Regions from separate parts of the Homo sapiens genome. Here region 2 is linked to region 1. Evidence: promoter capture Hi-C in 16 types of primary human blood cells and fetal thymus (Javierre and others, 2016). All regions are on one chromosome and are shown on one strand. Each heading gives the region's core, a stretch centred on a gene start or on the middle of the fragment in contact. The rest is flanking DNA. Distances are from core to core; before and after follow the strand shown. Region 1 holds the start of SLC26A6 (solute carrier family 26 member 6). Region 2 overlaps ATRIP (ATR interacting protein).

Region 1 (2,619 bases), core at 73-2,572:
GTCTGTGCAGACACCTCCTCACCCACCACCCCATGCATACTCTTGGGAAGCAGCTTCCTGGGAGATTAGAAATTCTACTTCCCTGACTGGAGCTAAATCCCACCAGCCAGGACCCAAACTCTCCTTACCGAGAAGGACCCCAGCTCTTGAAGGGCTGAGTGGCCTGCTGGGGGTGGGAGGGTGTCTTTACTATGTCCTAGGTTTCGTAGATGCCCCTCTCTGGGGTTCCCCTCCTCCAGCCCAGCGGCCCTCTTTCCTGTCTGTGTAAATTGTTCCGTGAAGCCGCGCTCTGTTTTGGGAATAAACTTCTATAGAAAACAGTTGTTGCCTTTTCCTGTTGGGGGCTGGGGAGGTAGGATGGAAGCTGTGAATGATTCAAGCCAGACTGACCTTTGGGAGGAATCTGAGCCCCTCCCAAGAATATCCAGCTATTTTTAGCCCATTTCATGGCAGATCTCTTTCACCTTGAAATCTGGCCCCTCACTTTGTAATTGGGGCCTGATGTTGGAGCACAGGTGCTGAAAATAAGGTGCTAAGGAAAACCTCCCCGCTGGTCAAGGCAACGGCAACAGGACTTCCTAATTCTTCAGGGTCTGCAGCCCTGACCCGGCATTTTTTGCCCTCACCTGCGGTGAAACCAACCTGAGGAACTGCTCTTGCAGTTCCTGCCTTGCCCACCCAACAGCACTGACGCCCACCCAACAGCACTGACCCCCACCATTCTCCTCGGCGGCCCGCGCAGTAACCTTCTGGGAGCTACGTCCGGGCTGTGCTTAGTGCAGCGGAGGGGATCCTCCAACCATTTCTGGCCTGGGTGGCCAGAGTTAAAGGGGAGGACTTGGGGACCGTTGGCTCCGGGTCTCAAAGAGATGCGTAGTCGCAGAAAGCCTGCGGGTGGCGCTCTCAGCTGAAGGCAAGAGAGGCCCCACAGACCTGGATCCCCTACGAGTTAAGGCTGGGGTCACCGGCCAGTGGAGTTTCCTTTTCCCACTCCGTGAGCACCTTCCGCCGAGCCAGGACCTGGGATCAGCTCCAACCTACTCAGGGCCTGGGGGCGCGACTGCGGCCAGCCCGGCGCGGGTGCTTAGTTCCAGTTCTGCAGTCCCATCCAGCTCCGGGCAGAGGGCCGGGCGAGCAGCGAGAGGCCTCATAGGCCAGGTCGCCGGGGAGGAAGCGGTTAAATCCTCCTTCTCCAGTCTCTCCCCGCCCGGCGCGCGCCACTTAGGCCCCGCCCCAGCGCGCTGATTGGCCCAAGCCTCCCCGTCCTGCCCCGGGATTAGCCCCCGGGAGAGCGCAGCTGGCCTCACCCGGTCCCGGCGCCGCCTTCCGGAGCGTAGCGGCCTCTAGCTCGAGCAGCAGGAGCAGCCCGCACCGGACAACTTGCGAGCCATGGGGCTGGCGGATGCGTCGGGGTGAGTTCAGCGCACATTCCCGGTGGCCCCGCGCGAGCGCCTCGCTGGAGCAGGCATTCTCCGCTTGCGACGCCTCGCTGGAGCAGGCATTCTCCGCTTGCGACGCCTCGGTTTACCTCTGCTGATTTTCTGCAGGCGGCTGCCCCTCTGCAGCAAGGGGTGGGGGCGGGAGCCGGCGCGACCCCAGTCCCTTGGGCTGTGCGGAAAGCCGCTGGTGTGACGCCCGAGGGCCATCCCGGGCCACAGGGAGGCAGCTGCGTGCGGAGGAGCCCGGCCAGGAGATGTGCCGGCGGGGGTGCGTGGGGCACGGGAGTCCCTGGCAGCGGCCCGTGGACTAGCTGCTTTCAGCTGAGTCCCGAGTCCACCCAGCTCCACTGATCCCGGAGTGAGCGCTCCGGCCTTTCTGGCCCCAGTTGCCTTCCTACAGGGAGGGGCCAATGATCAAGGCTCCGCCCTCCAAACGCGGGTCCCAAGTTGTCGGGGGAGGGAGCCCTTTAAGAAGACCTGAGTGACTCACGTAGGAAAGGAGAGGGGGCTCTACGATCTCCTTGAGATAGCGGTCCCAAGAGTCTCTGAGGATCTTCCTTGCACCCACTCCACACTCCTCCAACAGTACAGCCAGGTTAGAGGCGCTTCCCAGGTGAGTTCCTGTCCCTCAAATGGGATCCTCTCCCCAGGTCAGGGCTTTTCCTAGATCAGAACTTTCCTGACTGGTGAAAGCTTCCCCAACAGGCTAGAGTTTTCCCCCAGGTAAGATCCTTCTGTGAGATCTATTCCCAGGTGACAGCTTTTCCCCATTCCACGTGGGAGCCTCGCCCGAGGTCAGAGCTTTCTCTATGGGAGAGTACCCCCCAGGTGAGAACCCTCTCCCTCTAGGTCTTTTCTTCCCATGTGAGATCTTTCTCTGACTTCAAGTAGGTGCCTCTGGGCAGAGGGAAGATTCCCCCTGTATCAGAACTTGCCAGGCTGATAAAGATTCCCTGGTAGGTCAGAGATCCCTCTAGGTGAGATTCCCCTTGAAAGCTTCTATTCCCAGGTGAGCTCTTTCCCCCACTTCAAGTGGGTACTTCCCTTTCCATGTGGGAGCCTCTCCCTCTAGGTGAGAGATTGCCACTCCAAGAGCAAGCTCCTTCTCAGGTGAGAGCCAGTCCTTGGCTTCCCCATAACAGGCCTGAGCCGTCTACAACCTGGACCCTGGGGCTGGAGG
Region 2 (2,619 bases), core at 103-2,602, 170 kb after region 1:
TGAAACTTGTTTCATGTGAACAAGTGGGCACTTCCACTGCAAGACTGCTGCAGCTGAGAGGACAGGCCCTTATCTGGTGTAGCATCGCCCAGGAAGTGGGATGACCTCCTGGATCTGGGATGCCTGGCTTCCACATGCTCCCAAACAGGGATGCAGGTCCTAACTTAGGTGGGAGAGAAATGTTCTGTGCCCACAGAAGGACTGACCAGGCCTCCAGAGGTGACAAACATGGCCTTGGCTATGGCTGGATCTTATGAGACCTCTCACAGGGCAAGGAAAGCCATTTTCTCTACTTGCCAGAAAACACATCTGCTGCCAGTGGGAGAATGTGCCTACTGTGGGGTGTGCAGGAGGGAGGGGTTCTGGGCATACTGCCCCAGGTCTCAGGGGCAAAAGGAAAGCTATTACCCCAATAAACCAAGCCCCAAGGCAACTGCTGCTGTTTGCTCAACCCACATAGCCTGGGGGAGCACGATGGACTGGCCTGGTGGGTGGGGAGGAGGGCAATTCTGAAACACTCTATGGGGTCTGGCCAGGTGTGTACCCCTTCAGACATCTGCAGTTTCTAAGCACAGAAGGTCAAGATATCCCTCAGTGTGTCCTTAGGAAGCAAGGTCTCACTATGTGGGGTGAACTCACTTTAGGGCAAATCCTGCACAGCAGACAAAAAGTTCAATGCTTTTTAGTTGCCAGGGTGTGCAGCCCTTTGTGGGAAGCTGGAATTTTAACATGGTTATTACCTGGTTTCATTATTGGGCTGTAAGATGTCCAATATCTGCCACTTGCAGAAGGTACTGCAAGGAAAATCCACTTTTATGTACACCACAGTGGTTTCCAAGTTATTTTTTGATAGCGTTAAGAACTTTTTTTTTTTGAAACTGAGTCTCGCTCTGTCACCCAGGCTGGAGTGCAGTGGCGCAAACTCAGCTCACTGCAACCTCCGCCTCCAGGGTTCAAGCGATTCTCCTGCCTCAGCCTCCCGAGTAGCTGGGACTACAGGTGCCTGCCACCACGCCCAGCTACTTTTTTGTATTTTTAGTAGAGACGGGGTTTCACCATGTTAGCCAGGATGGTCTCGATCTCCTGACCTCGTGATCCACCCACCTCGGCTTCCTAAAGTGCTGGGATTACAGGCGTGAGCCACCATGCCCAGCCCCTAAGAACCTCTTTAAATGAAATTTTATGAAGAGCCCCAGTACATGAAATAGATAAATGCCCAGCTGTGGCTGTGTTTTGAATGTCCCTGTGGACAAGCTCAACAGGAGTGGAATAATGGTGTGTCTACCACCAGTAAAAACATGGTTTCTGGGATTCTTTGAGATAGGGTCTCACTCTGTCACCTAGGCTGGAGTGCAGTGGCATGGTCATAGCTCACTGCCACCATGCCTGGCTAATTAAAAAAAAAAAAATTGTAGAGCTGGGAGTCTTGCTTTGTTGCCCACGCTGGTCTCAAACTCCTGGGCTCAAGTGATCCTCCCACCTTGGCCTCCCAAAGTGCTGAGATTACAGGCAGGAGCCACTGTGCCCAGCCTGGGATTCATTCATTTAACAATTATTAAACAAATAACCAAGGCTGGGCCCGGTGGCTCACGCCTGTAATCCTTGCACTTTGGCAGGCCAAGGCAGGTGGATCACCTGAGGTCCGGCATTTGAGACAAGCCTGGCCAACATGGTGAAACCCTGTCTCTACTAAAAATATAAAAAATTAGCCAGGTGTGGTGGCAGGTGCCTGTAATCTCAGCGTCTCAGGAGGCTGAGGCAGGAGAACTGCTTGAACCTGGGAAGTGGAGGTTGCAGTGAGCCGAGATCGCACCACTGCACTCCAGCTTGGACAACAAGAGCAAAACTTCGTCTCAAAACAAAAACAAAAACAAACAAATAAACAACAACAAAAAAAAACAGCCACTATGAGCTGGGCCCCTGCTGGGCACTTGAGTCCTGAGTCTGCCTGATCCCACTGCCCACACTACACTGCAGTGCTGTGTCCAGCTGAGTACCACCTTTAGCATGGGCCAGACCAACCAAAAATATTCAGATGGAAACAGATCTAGGAAACAGCAGTGCTGAGCTCAGAGATGAGATGATTTAAGATATATTCAGCCAGTGGAATCATTCCAACATAGAAACTGACCCTTTGGTAGAGTGCTGAGGGAGACTGGATTACTGGATGAGGGGGTGGGCTGGTTGTGTTCACAGTTCTCCCCAATCTTGCGGCTCTGGAATCCCAAGGGAGGAATTTATGATCACAGTGTTCATTCGCTAGGTTCACTATAATATACTACCCACAAACCTTAAGAAGAACAGGCCACCCCAGATGCATGCTAAAGATGGGCACAATGACAGGCAGAGACTCCCAGCAAGGTCAGCCCGTGGGCTGCAGACCCTCTCCACATCCTCTGCTTCCTTAGGGAAACCACTAAACTTCAACGTGCTTGTGATGTGTGGTCTTCACCTTACCCACATCTCAGGTTCAGAGGCCCCTTGTCTTAACCCTTGTCCTGGGGCAGGGCCCTCCTCCACAGAGGTTAGCAGCCTCCTTTAATCATGTGTGCCTTTTGCTTACCTGTTGTTCAGAGGCAGAATTAAATCAAATAAACCACTTCCTTGGTTCTCCCATTT

Evidence for each region. The method cuts DNA at HindIII sites, captures the fragments that hold promoters and counts their contacts. A CHiCAGO score of 5 or more calls a contact.
Region 2: a contact is called between a fragment that was not itself captured here and the fragment with the promoter of SLC26A6 in region 1, in 4 of 17 cell types (M2 macrophages, M1 macrophages, M0 macrophages and 1 more). The highest score is 9.0, in M2 macrophages.

The regions. Positions count from the first base shown.
Region 1 is chr3:48,634,164-48,636,782 of GRCh38, reverse strand. It overlaps SLC26A6 (solute carrier family 26 member 6), which reads left to right and starts at 1,322. Exons shown (of 21, transcript NM_022911.3): 1 at 1,322-1,412. The coding sequence starts at 1,390. It overlaps CELSR3 (cadherin EGF LAG seven-pass G-type receptor 3), which reads left to right. Exons shown (of 35, transcript NM_001407.3): 35 at 1-320. RefSeq lists silencers at 1,114-1,393, 1,784-1,883. The HindIII fragment of the contact is 3,939 bases long and covers 1-2,134 here.
Region 2 is chr3:48,460,958-48,463,576 of GRCh38, reverse strand. The region is part of intron 8 of ATRIP (ATR interacting protein); the gene reads right to left. ATRIP-TREX1 (ATRIP-TREX1 readthrough) reads right to left here. Exons shown (of 15, transcript NR_153405.1): 9 at 2,132-2,216. Among named protein-coding and RNA genes, the nearest start is that of TREX1, 4.0 kb to the left of the region's middle. The HindIII fragment of the contact is 4,574 bases long and covers 1-2,619 here.